2 separate regions of the Homo sapiens genome follow, and region 2 is linked to region 1. The links are contacts of gene promoters, found by promoter capture Hi-C in blood cells and fetal thymus (Javierre and others, 2016). All regions are on one chromosome and are shown on one strand. The core of a region is centred on a gene start or on the middle of the fragment in contact, and the rest is flanking DNA. Distances in the headings are between cores, read along the strand shown. Region 1 holds the start of MAGI1-AS1 (MAGI1 antisense RNA 1). Region 2 has its middle 84 kb from the start of SLC25A26.

The links. The method cuts DNA at HindIII sites, captures the fragments that hold promoters and counts their contacts. A CHiCAGO score of 5 or more calls a contact.
Region 2: a contact is called between a fragment that was not itself captured here and the fragment with the promoter of MAGI1-AS1 in region 1, in 1 of 17 cell types (endothelial precursors). The highest score is 7.5, in endothelial precursors.

What each region holds. Positions count from the first base shown.
Region 1 is chr3:65,892,445-65,895,228 of GRCh38, reverse strand. MAGI1-AS1 (MAGI1 antisense RNA 1) reads right to left here and starts at 1,413. Exons shown (of 3, transcript NR_046575.1): 1 at 1,312-1,413. The region is part of intron 1 of MAGI1 (membrane associated guanylate kinase, WW and PDZ domain containing 1); the gene reads left to right. The region is part of intron 2 of MAGI1-IT1 (MAGI1 intronic transcript 1); the gene reads left to right. The HindIII fragment of the contact is 9,353 bases long and covers 1-2,784 here.
Region 2 is chr3:66,135,600-66,138,372 of GRCh38, reverse strand. It overlaps a transcript of SLC25A26 not described here. Among named protein-coding and RNA genes, the nearest start is that of SLC25A26, 84 kb to the left of the region's middle. The HindIII fragment of the contact is 241 bases long and covers 1,347-1,587 here.

The DNA of each region.
Region 1 (2,784 bases), core at 164-2,663:
CACTTAGAAGAAGACACATTTGTTAAAGAAGTACAGTTGCCTTTATGTCTGGCATTTTAGTTAACCAGTAGCAAAATAAAGGACTGATGGATTTATTATCAGATTATGCCCAACCATGCACATATTGCCAAGTCCTCCATGAACATCACAGATATCTAAAATAAAAGAGACGTTTTTATTTGTTTTAATAAATAACATTAGCTAGCACCTCCGTTTCCAACCATTCAGTCCTGTTTGGAAATGCCACAGTGATGGGTGTGTGTTATTTTGAACTCATGTGAAGGTTCCATGACAACGGTAAACATTCATATTGCACATTTTCATAAGGCAGTGAATCTGGATGAGGCAAGTGGCCTCAGCCGGCAATAAAGATGTGTTATGAAATTTCCCATGCCAGAAGAGACACTCATAGCTGGGATTGGCCTTTTCAAAAGCAGTTGATGGTGATGAGTGATAACTCCCCTTTTAGTTTTGGCATCAGATGGAGTTTGTAGCTCATTGGCTTCATTGTGTTGCCTGGGTATCTCCTATTTAGACTTAATTGGATGGTTTGCACCACTGTCCTAGGTGGTTGCTAGTCTTTTCAAGGACTATCCTTACTGAATACTCTTGGTATTGTATTTCTCTTTTCTTACACGAATCCTCAATTACAACAACAAAGAAAATGCTAACATTTGACATCACTGGTAAACTAAGAATGCTTTAGATTAGGATTTCCATTTGCTGCCTTTCCAAATTTGATAATTTATATTTGGATATCCTTTTAGCATATTTTTGGTGGAATGGTTCACTTTATTATTATTTTTAAAAGATGGATGTGTCCTAGCTTTCACCAAGGAACAACTCAGTTTAGATGGAATGTTTTATAAATATGATGTAATGGAAATTGAACAGGATTTGGAGTCACAAGGGCCTGTGTTGGCATCTTAGTGCCATTATTTATTGTGTGACCTTGGGCAATCACATAGCCTTTCTGAACTTCCATTTTCTCACTAGTAGGTAGGGATGATATTATTGATTGTTATTTAGGGGTTGTGGCAGAAATTATGCTGTTCTTACAACTTTGAGATTCTTTCCATAGGGAGGCGGGTAGTGATGTCTCGTTCCTTCTTTTTGTATGGAGGGGTGGCCATGTGATTATGGTGGAGCAGTGCTGTGAGACTTCCAAGATAGGGTCATAAAAGGTGGTATAGCTTCTACCTGGTTCTTTTGGGACACTTGACTTTGGAAACCAGCTAGGAGGCTGCAGGGGAGCTCAAGGAGCCAAATGGTGAGGCCACATCCAAGTGTTCCAGGGGAGGTGAAACACACCTGAGGTTTCAGATGATTCTAGCCCTGGGCCATTGAGTTGCCTGCAGTCTTCCCAGTGTAAGATTCAGACATCAGGAAGCAGAGACAAGCATTTCAGCTGTGCTTTGTACAAATTCCTGACTCACAGAAATTGTGAAAGATAATAAAATGATTGTTGTTAGTTTAAGCCGTTATATTTTGGGATGATTTATTACGCAGCAGTAGATAATTGTAATAAAGAAATCATGAATTCAAATAGTAGTTCTTCTTCTAATTTTGCATACTGTCTTTACCACTTAGTAACTGTGTAACCTGGGGCAAAATTTGTAATTTCTTTGTGTCTGTTTTCTTAATTGTAAATGGGACTCGCGTAATTCCCTCTGGACTTCTGATGAGAATTAGTGATTTAATACTTGATACGCTCAATAAATGTTGCTTGTCATTATTTTCTATTAAACTATATTGTTGGATTTTTGAGAATGCATGAAGAAACTTAACGTTAATTGTGTTTTGATTTTTAAAGGCGTTATGTAAATTTTGTTTTGTGCTTTTCTCCAGGCAAGAAACCGGTTTGAATGTAATTTTCATGAAATGAAAAAAAAAAAGAAAAATGAATAGTAAATCTGATGTTAGTATCTGCCATTTATTTCACATTTTTTTTTCTGAGGTTGTATATGTCTGGGAACCTTTGGCTTTGCTTGGTAGAAAGAGGACTAATGACTCCAATTAGAGGACATCAGTAGAGAAGAAGGGATGAAGGATGGGAGATAGGAAAGAAATCTTATTTTCAGTAACTTATGTGCCAGAAACTGCACTGTAGCCTTTTACCAGTGTAGCCTTCTTAGATACTCTGAGAGAGATAATAAGAGAAGAATGGATTGTTACTTAATTTTTATCGTCCCTGAAATTGAGGTTGTTAGTGTCCTTCTCTGGTGTGTTACCTGGGGAAAGGAACAATGATTGCAGTTTTACTTTCAGGCTAAAAGCTACAAATCTGAGCTCACATTTCTGTTTGTTTCTGCCTCTGACCCTGGGTGGCTTTGTGACCTCTCTAAGCCTCAGTTTCTTCAGTTGTCAAATGGGTCTAATAGTGTTTCCTATTTCCTGTCATTGTTAAAGAAGAGCCCATGAGAATCTGTTTCCTAACCTAGCTTGGTCATAAGAATGATTGTAATGCATTTTTTAAAATAATGGGACCCATCCCAGAGCTACAGAATTAGAATTTCCAGGGATTCTGTGATTAAGTGCCCCAGGTAAGTCTTACTGTTAGGCTGATTTGGGAGACATTAAAACAATGTGTAAAGTTGAACAGTTAACACCTAATACATAAATGTTAGCTGCTGTTATAATTATACTTAACATTAATTTAATGTTTTAGGTAAGTTCTTTTATATACGTTCTTTAGATTTGCTTTGGTAGGTTTTGATAATTTCTAAAAAATAAACACAAGAATGCCTTGTATGCCACTTAATAAAATGTTGGTATGCCACTTAA
Region 2 (2,773 bases), core at 218-2,717, 240 kb before region 1:
AATTAAGAATGGTTGCCCTGGAGTGTGATGTGTCTGAAGGGGGGTGAGATTTGTGGGATGATTTTTTTCTTCCTTCATTGCATATTTCCATACTTCAGATGTATACATTGTATACGATGTATACATTGAACAGCTTTGATCACCATAGGAAAAATAAAACATTATAAATGCCCATGTTTATTTTACGTGTTCACATGCAATACTCTCTGTTTAATAATGCCATAGAAAATGTTCATGTGGGCCGATCATGGTGGCTCATGCCTGTAATCCCAGCACTTTGGGAGGCTGAGGCGGGTGGATCACTTGAGGTCAGGAGTTCGAGACCAACCTGGCCAACATAGTGAAACCCCGTCTCTACTAAAAATACAAAAATTAGCTGGGTGTGGTAATGCACGCCTGTAATCCCAGCTGCTCTGGAGGCTGAGGTGGGAGAATCGCTTGAACCTGGGAGGCAGAGGTGGCAGAGAGCCAAGATTGGGCTACTGCACTCCAGCCTGGGTGACAGAGCGACACTGTCTCAAAAAACAAAAAAAAGAAAAAAGAAAATGTTCATGTGACTATACTAACTAGCTTTGCAAAGGAAAGAAGAAAACAAGCTCTTATGGAGTCCTAGGTGCTAGGAACTGTATTAGGAGTTGGGGGATAACAAGATGAGTTAGACACACTCTGACCTCAGGAAGCTCACAGTCACACAGAGCATCTTATTCCCTTCTCACAATGACTCTATGAGTGTCTTAGGCCATTCCTGCTGGTCTCACAAAATACCACCAACTAGGTAATTCATAAACTATAGAATTTTTTTTCTCACAGTTCTGCAGGTTGGGATGTTCAAGATCATAGTGTGGGGCTGGGTGTGGTTGTTCATGCCTGTAATCCCAGCACTTTGGGAGGCCAAGGATGGTGGATCCCCTGTGGTCAGGAGTTTGAGACCATCTTGGCCAACATGGTGAAACCCTGTCTCTACTAAAAATACAAGAAATTACCCAGGCCTGGTGGCAGGCCCCTGTAATCCCAGCTACTCGGGAGGCTGAGGCAGAAGAATTGCTTGAACCTGGGAGGCAGAGGTTGCAGTGAGCAGAGTTTGAGATCGCGCCATTGCACTCCAGCTCGGGCGACAAGAGCAAAACTCCATCTCAAAAAAAAAAAAAAAAAAAAGAAAGAAAATCACAGCATAGGTAGATTTGGTGTTTGGTGAAGGTCTGTTCCATAGATGGTGATTTCTCATGGCATCCTCACATGGTGGAAAAGGTGGCAGGAAAGAGCTCACATCTATTAGTCAAGCTATTTAATTAATGATTTCCTTTATCTCAACTGATTTTTAACTGAACTTTATTTTAAAAGAAGCTTTGTGCTATTATCATAAATGCAAATCAGAATTATTTTCAATAAATAAGAGATAACCATAAAGTAAGCAAAATAAAAACAAAAATTTATATACTATTGTTGAGGAAGCTCCAACTCTCTTTGTTAAGCTCTCTCTTTGTTATGAAAGGGAGACTAGCAAGTATGAGAGGGACATAGCACCTCACTGAGGCTTTCTTCTTGAAATAAACAGAAGGTCTTAACAAGTCCTGAAAGGGAAAAGCTTTGTATACAATTTAATGCATACTGTAAATGACATGGAGGCTTTGAAAACACAGTACTACTTGATGCAAAGCCAAGAGAAATATCCCAGTCAAAGCAGAAGAGAGAAACCTAGCGGCTGAAAGCCAGAGCTTAGGTGAAAGAATGTATAAATCAAATTTCACTACCATGATTGTTTTGGAAATATAAGCATCAACTGGAACATGAAACTAAAAGCCATCTTTTAAAATACAAAAATGTTATTTCTTAGTGACGAGACAGTGCAATGAGTTAGAATACCATTTTAGAAATGAAATAGACATGGATTCAAATCCAGCTAAGCTATTTATTACATGCTCACCCTGTTTTTCTCCAAACTTCAATGTCTTCATCTATAGGCCAATGGAGAGTGATAAGTAGTTTTTAATTATAAACTGGCCATTTGTGTATCTTAGGTTAAAGGATAATTTTCCCAAAAAGGTAAAATCATGACTATCATATAGACATAAAATGAACATCTGGAATACATTTTATTTAACTCATTACTAATGAGTGAACCACCGAAATGTTATCATTCATTCAAAGGAGAAGTCCAACAGCAGATACATATATAGATGGGAACACTGAAATAAATTTGCAAGTAGACACAAAACTGTTTATTTCCACAATAAGAGAGGAAAATCAGTTGACTGTCCGCAGGACAGAATTTCCTTGCATGATTATGAACAAGAAATATTTGCATTACTATTAGTTTTATCATCAATTTCTGAATTGTTGTGATCAATACAGAAATCTATAGTAAAACACTTTTCAAGTTAACTTCTATCTCAACAGACTTGTAAAATAGCTTAGCCAAAGACCAAGATGTATATCCCTGTAGGATTACGTGGTCTCTAAAGACAGGTATTTCATTGAAAGAATATCCAATGTGAATATTCCAAAAGAATATCTCTTTTATTTATTCCAAAGTCTTAAATTTTGCCTTATACTTATGTTAAGACTGGATCTGTAAAACTTACCTTTTTACTTTATTTTTTTATTGAGACAGGGTTTTGCTCTGTTACCCAGGCTGGAGTGCAGTGGTGCCATCAGGGCTCACTGAAGCCTCAACCTCCCAGGCTCAAGAGAGATCCTCCCACTTTAGCCTCCCAAGTAGCTGAGATTACAAGTACATGCCACCATGCCCACCTAATTTTTTATTTTTGGTAAA